2 separate regions of the Homo sapiens genome follow, and region 1 is linked to region 2. Evidence: promoter capture Hi-C in 16 types of primary human blood cells and fetal thymus (Javierre and others, 2016). All regions are on one chromosome and are shown on one strand. Each heading gives the region's core, a stretch centred on a gene start or on the middle of the fragment in contact. The rest is flanking DNA. Distances are from core to core; before and after follow the strand shown. Region 1 has its middle 13 kb from the start of YIPF6. Region 2 holds the start of LAS1L (LAS1 like ribosome biogenesis factor).

Evidence for each region. The method cuts DNA at HindIII sites, captures the fragments that hold promoters and counts their contacts. A CHiCAGO score of 5 or more calls a contact.
Region 1: a contact is called between a fragment that was not itself captured here and the fragment with the promoter of LAS1L in region 2, in 1 of 17 cell types (neutrophils). The highest score is 6.6, in neutrophils.

Annotation. Positions count from the first base shown.
Region 1 is chrX:68,484,903-68,488,114 of GRCh38, forward strand. No RefSeq gene overlaps it. Among named protein-coding and RNA genes, the nearest start is that of YIPF6, 13 kb to the right of the region's middle. The HindIII fragment of the contact is 1,704 bases long and covers 782-2,485 here.
Region 2 is chrX:65,533,535-65,536,867 of GRCh38, forward strand. LAS1L (LAS1 like ribosome biogenesis factor) reads right to left here and starts at 1,253. Exons shown (of 14, transcript NM_031206.7): 1 at 946-1,253; 2 at 76-201. The coding sequence starts at 1,181. RefSeq lists an enhancer at 1,348-1,527. The HindIII fragment of the contact is 19,270 bases long and covers 1-3,333 here.

The sequences.
Region 1 (3,212 bases), core at 384-2,883, 3.0 Mb after region 2:
AAACAAACCTTAACAAATTTAAAAGAATATAAGCCACACAAAATATGTTCTCAAACCAGAAGGAAACTAAATAAGAAGTTGATAACAAAATGATACCTTGAAAAATTCCCAAATATTTGGAAACTAAACAGCATACTTTTTTATTTTATTTTTATTTTTATTTTTATTTTTTTTTGAGACAGGGTCTCATTCTGCTGCGCAGGCTAGGGTGCAGTGGCGCCATCATAGCTCACTGTAACCTTGAACTCCTGGGCTCAAGTGATCCACCCACTTCAGCCTCCAGAGTAGCTGGGATTACAGGTGTGTGAAACCATGCCTGGCTAATTTTTCAATTTTTTGTAGAGATGGGGGTTTCTCCATGTTACCCGGGCTGGTCTCGAACTTCTGGGCTCAAGTGATCCTCCTGCCTCGACCTCCCAAAGTACTGGGATTACAGGCAGGAACAACCGTGTCAGACCGGTTTCTGCATTTTTAAGATCTGTAAAAACCCAAAACAAAAAGACATAAAAGAATAATATGCAACAGAGACAATTGATGGTCTACATAACCTAAAACATTTACTATCTAGCCTTTTACAGAAAATATTTGGCAACTTTTGATTTAGAGGACTGATTCTCTGACAGTTGTTTGTTTTTGAGATGGAGTCTCACTCTGAAGCCCAAGCTGGAGTGCACTGGCACGATCTCAGCTCACTGCAACCTCGCTTCCTGGGTTCAAGCAATTCTCATGCCTCAGCCTGTGGAGTAGCTGGGATTACGGGATGCCCCACCCCACCCAGCTAAGCTTTGTATTTTTAGTAGAGACAGGGTTTTGCTATTTTGGCCAGGCTGGTCTCGAACTCCTGACCCAAGTGATCCGCCCGCCTCGGCCTCCCAAAGTGCTGGAATTACAGGAGTGAGTCATGGCGCCAGCCTGATTCTCTGAGAGTTTTAAAGATATTTTTACATAGTCATTGTTCTGATGAGGTTTCCTAAATTCTCTTGGGTCAGTTTGAACACTTAAATTTTTCTAAGAAACAGTCTATCTCCTTGATGCTTTCAAACTTATTTGCATAGATTTGTACATAGCACTTTCATGTAAATTAAAAATAAAAACCAATTTTCCATTATTATTCTTGGCCTAAATTTCTTTATTATTATTATTATTATTATTATTATTATACTTTAAGTTTTAGGGTACATGTGCACAATGTGCAGGTTAGTTACATATGTATACATGTGCCATGTTGGTGTGCTGCACCCATTAACTCGTCATTTAGCATTAGGTATATCTCCTAATGCTATCCCTCCCCCCTCCCCCCACCCTGCAACAGTCCCCAGAGTGTGATGTTCCCCTTCCTGTGTCCATGTGTTCTCATTGTTCAATTCCCATGTATAAGTGAGAACATGCGGTGTTTGGTTTTTTGTCCTTGCGATAGTTTACTGAGAATGATGATTTCCAGTTTCATCCATGTCCCTACAAAGGACATGAACTCATCCTTTTTTATGGCTGCATAGTATTCCATGGTGTATATGTGCCACATTTTCTTAATCCACTCTATCATTGTTGGACATTTAGGTTGGTTCCAAGTCTTTGCTATTGTGAATAGTGCCACAATAAACATACGTGTGCATGTGTCTTTATAGCAGCATGATTTATAGTCCTTTGGGTATATACCCAGTAATGGGATGGCTGGGTGAAATGGTATTTCTAGTTCTAGATCCCTGAGGAATCGCCACACTGACTTCCACAATGGTTGAACTAGTTTACAGTCCCACCAACAGTGTAAAAGTGTTTCTATTTCTCCACATCCTCTCCAGCACCTGTTGTTTCCTGACTTTTTAATGATTGCCATTCTAACTGGTGTGAGATGGTATCTCATTGTGGTTTTGATTTGCATTTCTCTGATGTTCTTGGCCTAAATTTCAATTCCATCTTTACCACTAACCAAATTTCCAAGCAATTTGGAGCAAATAATTTACCTCTTTGAAGTCTCATTTTCTTGCAAAATGGGAATAAGAATAAAACCTACCTCATAGAATTTTTGTGAAGATAAGGTACAAAAATGTACGTGCAATTAGTTTGTAAAATAGTAGAGTTCATACAGATGTTAGTTAATATTTTTAATCTGCTTAAATGCAGTCATTTCATATATGTGAACTTTTCCTTTTAATCTTGAGATGTTATCCTTGAGTGGGAAGATATGGGATCAGACCTAGTATATAAGTGCCTTAGATAATACAGTTGATTGTGAGGAGAAATGGCAGAGAATGTGCTTATGGATGCTAACAAGTGGGTACATGTGGTGGTCAATAGAAGGTCTCTTTGGATTGCTTTTATTTTCTCAGTGAAGTAGGGGGCAAAGTTTTCATCTGAAATTCAGGATTGGAGAGGAGACATTGAAGTTTTGAGGAGAAAGAAGGTATGATATAATCTTTAGGTGAGTGGGCAAGTAAATGGACTTAAGAAATTTGTGTGATCACCAGGCAGCATTAAAGGTCTATGAAGCTTTGTGGTCCCTTAAAGTGAGACCAGTCAGCAAAGTTGTATGTTTTTCTCTGATTACATTTAGCTGACGATGCAAACACGAAGTATACAGAGTGTTGGGTTTAACCAGGTCTGTATTCTTGCCAAATGAGTGCAATAAAAGCAAAAGACGGGTAAGGGAGTTGAGAATGTTGCAAAGAAACGATTGTGGTGATTGCCAGTGGAGTTTAAACTGAATAAAGAGAAAAAAGTGGACATCAGGGGGATGAAAGACAGTAAAACTGTGGCAAATCAGTGGATTGTAGGTCTCAGTAGGATCGAAGTGTAGGCGTGAGTTGGTCTTGTCTCTTTCCCTGAGCTTTTATTGCTTGCTTTTTCTTAGACCTTGTTTCACATACATTAAAGCTTTGTGCTTTTCTGAGAATCCACACATGGACAGAGGTAGGAAATGATTTGGAGGGCTGGACTGAAGAATTAACTATATTTTAAATTTGTGTAGGCTGGGAGCAGTGTCTCACACCTGTAATCCCAGCACTTTGGGAGGCCAAGACAGGAGAAGCACTTGAAGGCCTGAGTTTGAGGCTGCAGTGAGCCTCAAAAAAAAAAAATAAATAAATACACACATACATACATACATACATACATCTGCATCCAAGTAGTTCAGATATTAGTGAGTCATCTACTCATCCTAAGGGACTGCATGCAGTGTGTTAGGAACTCAGTGGCCTCTGCTGCCCTTGGTCATG
Region 2 (3,333 bases), core at 3-2,502:
GTTTTGCTTATCACATGCCTCCCCTGCCTCCAGTCCCCAAAGCCAACCTCCACCCCTACCCCATGCAGGTCTTACCTGACCAATGCCATGCCATAGAGCAGTCTAAGTTCATCAGTGCCCAAGCCACCAGTTACATCCAAGAGCTTACAGCGTATCAGGTCAGCAGTAGAAGCCACTGCCAGAGGGAGTTCGTTGCCTGACCTAAAGGGTCACAGTCCAGCACCATCATAAAGAGCCCTTACACTGGTCCACCCTCCACCTCAGAACCTAGGTTGTTGCAGGCTACACCCATCATATTCTGGTTCAAGAGAGCATGAACAGACACAAAACAAGAAGGTGGGAGGAGACACGGTAATGTCTGTGGGATCCAACAGTATACAGGGCATGAGGAGCTGACTAGGCCGTATACAGGACACCTAACTGGTAGACTGTCCATCAACAGTTGTGTGGACACACCCCTTTCTTTCACCCCCAAATCAACTCATTGAGCTAGAGGAGCCCCTTATCCCTTGTAAGTCGGCTCCCAACTCAATCTTACCAACTGGACTGAGGCGCCCCACTCAAACACTGTCTTGCAGGCAAGACTTCCTCCCCATTGGAATCGGAAATCTACCCTAGGGTACTAATCTACTCCTTAAGCCCTGGCTCAGGCCTCACTAGTCCCTCCGGCATCCTCTCCAAGTTGGGAGAAAGTCACTTTTTGGAGGTAATGGGTAAACCTCACAGATATAACAAGAGAATTGTTGAGGCACAACCCCTTACTTTCCATTCCGCTAACGGGATTAGCGCAAGAGATGGCTGCCGCGTTCCCCCAGGCATTTGGGAGAGGGACAACTTTAGGCGACTTAGGGGAAGACTGGAGAACAGGGCCTTATAGAAACTCGACAAAGGAAGAGGTGCAGCGCCACCAGCACGCAGGCAAAAGGGCCGAACCCGCCACCTTACCTGCTCCTCCACACCGTGATGCGGTTAAGCGCGTACCGCTGCAACTTATGGTCGTCACAGAACAGATAAACCGTCACCTGGTCCCACTCGGCCCTGCTGAGCCAGGCGACCACGATGCCGTGGGCCGAGAGTGGCAACGACCCTTTCCCTTTAACGCACTTTCCGTACCACGCACTCCACACGAGATCCATCCCCTGGGAACCTAGACCTGGCCCGGCCCCGGATTCCCACGACATACTGAGCTCAACAACAGGCTCTGTGCCGCGCCGCTCCGCACAGCCTTCAGCTCAGCGTGCTACCCTCACTCCGAACCGCCACCGCACCAGCAGCCAATAGGAGAGCGTGACCCCATACGCAAGCCCGCCTTCCAGCGTCAGCATGGCCAATCGGAACGTCAGAATTGGGCGCCGACCTAATGACATGCGGGGTTAAAAACTCACCGGCCGGAAGTGTTCTTTTCACAAAGCAAACCCTCCAGGGGCAAGAGTTCAGCCTCTAGGTTCCGCCAATTTCCTGGTTGCTAACCGGCTTCTGTACCAGACCGGAAGCGGTATGTCTTCACTGCAAGAGGAATTTTATTTTGCTCCCCTCGGCGGGTGGCAGCTTGATTGTAGTCATCCAGTGAACTGAAAATGCGATTTTAAGTATATTTTTATTGCCGTGAATCAGGACCTAACCTAGTAAAACACTGGACACTGAAGCAGGGCTACAGAGGAAATATCTCATATCGAAACAGTTACAGTTGGGTTGAAAAAATCTGCTTTTGTGGCAGGTAACCAGGGGCCCTGCCTTTTAAATTAGTACCAGCCTGGCCAGGCGTGGTGGCTCACGCCTGTAATCCCAGCACATTGGGAGGCCCAGGCGGGCGGATCACTTGAGGTCAGGAGTTCCAGACCAGCCTGGCCAAAATGGTGAAACCCGGTCTCTAGTAAAAATACAAAAATTAGCTAAGCATGGTTGCACATGCCTGTAATCCCAGTTACTCAGGAGGCTGAGGCACAAGAATCGCTTGAATCCGGGAGGCGGAGGCTGCAACAAGCCAAGATCGCACCAGTGCACTCCACCCTGGGTGACAGATCGAGACTCTGTCTCAAAAGTAAATTAAATAAATACATACATAAATAAATAAATAAATACCAGCCTAGAGACCTGAGTTTTACTCTAAATTTTGCCACTAACTATGTGGACTTAGACTAGTCTCAGTTTTCCCATCTGTACAGTGAGAGTTGTAGACTGGTCTCTAGGTTCTCTGTCATAGCAGAAAATTGTAGAATTTTACTCTGCCAACATTCCACTGCTATGTTGGTTTCAACATCCACCAAGGTATACTTAGTTTTTCTGCAAAATTCCTTGGTATTTTGGAGTTCTGGGAGAAAAGCGGTATTATGAAGTTCCTCCGATTTTACGAGTTGACTGAAATATGTTTAGGACTATGTCCCAATCCTTCTTGCAGAAGTTATTTTCCAATGTAACACTTGAGAGAGAGAGAGAGAGAACTGTTGCTAACGATCTTAACAGCATTGCTGTGAGTGGCACTTTTACGCTTCACAGCAACAAATCCCAATTCATCCTCTATATGTGCTTCTTTCTCCAGCCAACTTTTCCTAAGATATAGTCTGCCTATAGTTATTTTATTTTTCTTTTTTTCTTTTTCTTTTTTTTTTTGACATGGCGTCTGGCCCAGTCGCCCAGGCTGGAGTGCAGTGGCACAATTCTCGGCTCACTGCAACCTCTACCTCCAGGGTTCAAGTGATTCTCTTGCCTCAGCCTTCCAAGTAGCTGGGATTACAGGCGCCTGCCACTATGCTTGGCTAATTTTTGTATTGTTAGTAGAGACAGGGTTTCACCATGTTGGCCAGGCTGGTCTGGAACTCCTGACCTCAAGTGATCCACCAGCCCAGGCCTCCCAAAGTGCTAGGATTACAGGCATGAGCCACCGTGCCCGGCCTGCCTATGGTTCTTGACTGACAGTTACTCTGTCCCAAGTAGCCATGCCAACCAGTTGGCCAGGTGTCTGCCTGAAACCAGATACCCTTTTTCCTTCAGGATCATGACAGTGTGCTGGCAAAGAAGTCTGGGGAGTGGTTTCTATGACTCCTCAAGATACAGGCCAGTCAGAGGAGCTGCCAGATCTGCGGCAATCATTCACACACATTTTGGGGTTTATAGGCTAAAAATTTTGCATAGTCCTTTTCAGGCAAAGACCCCTATTTATCCCCATTCCATCCACATAAAGCTGAAGTTCTCTCTATTCCGTGTGTTCTAAGAAAACATGACCAAAGCATGTAACAAGAGCATTATGTCTAATATGTGGCAAATGGGGCCTGAGACCTATTGAGAATTAGGAATTAGTGGACGAAGTGTGTCAAATAGTGGTAATTTTGAAGA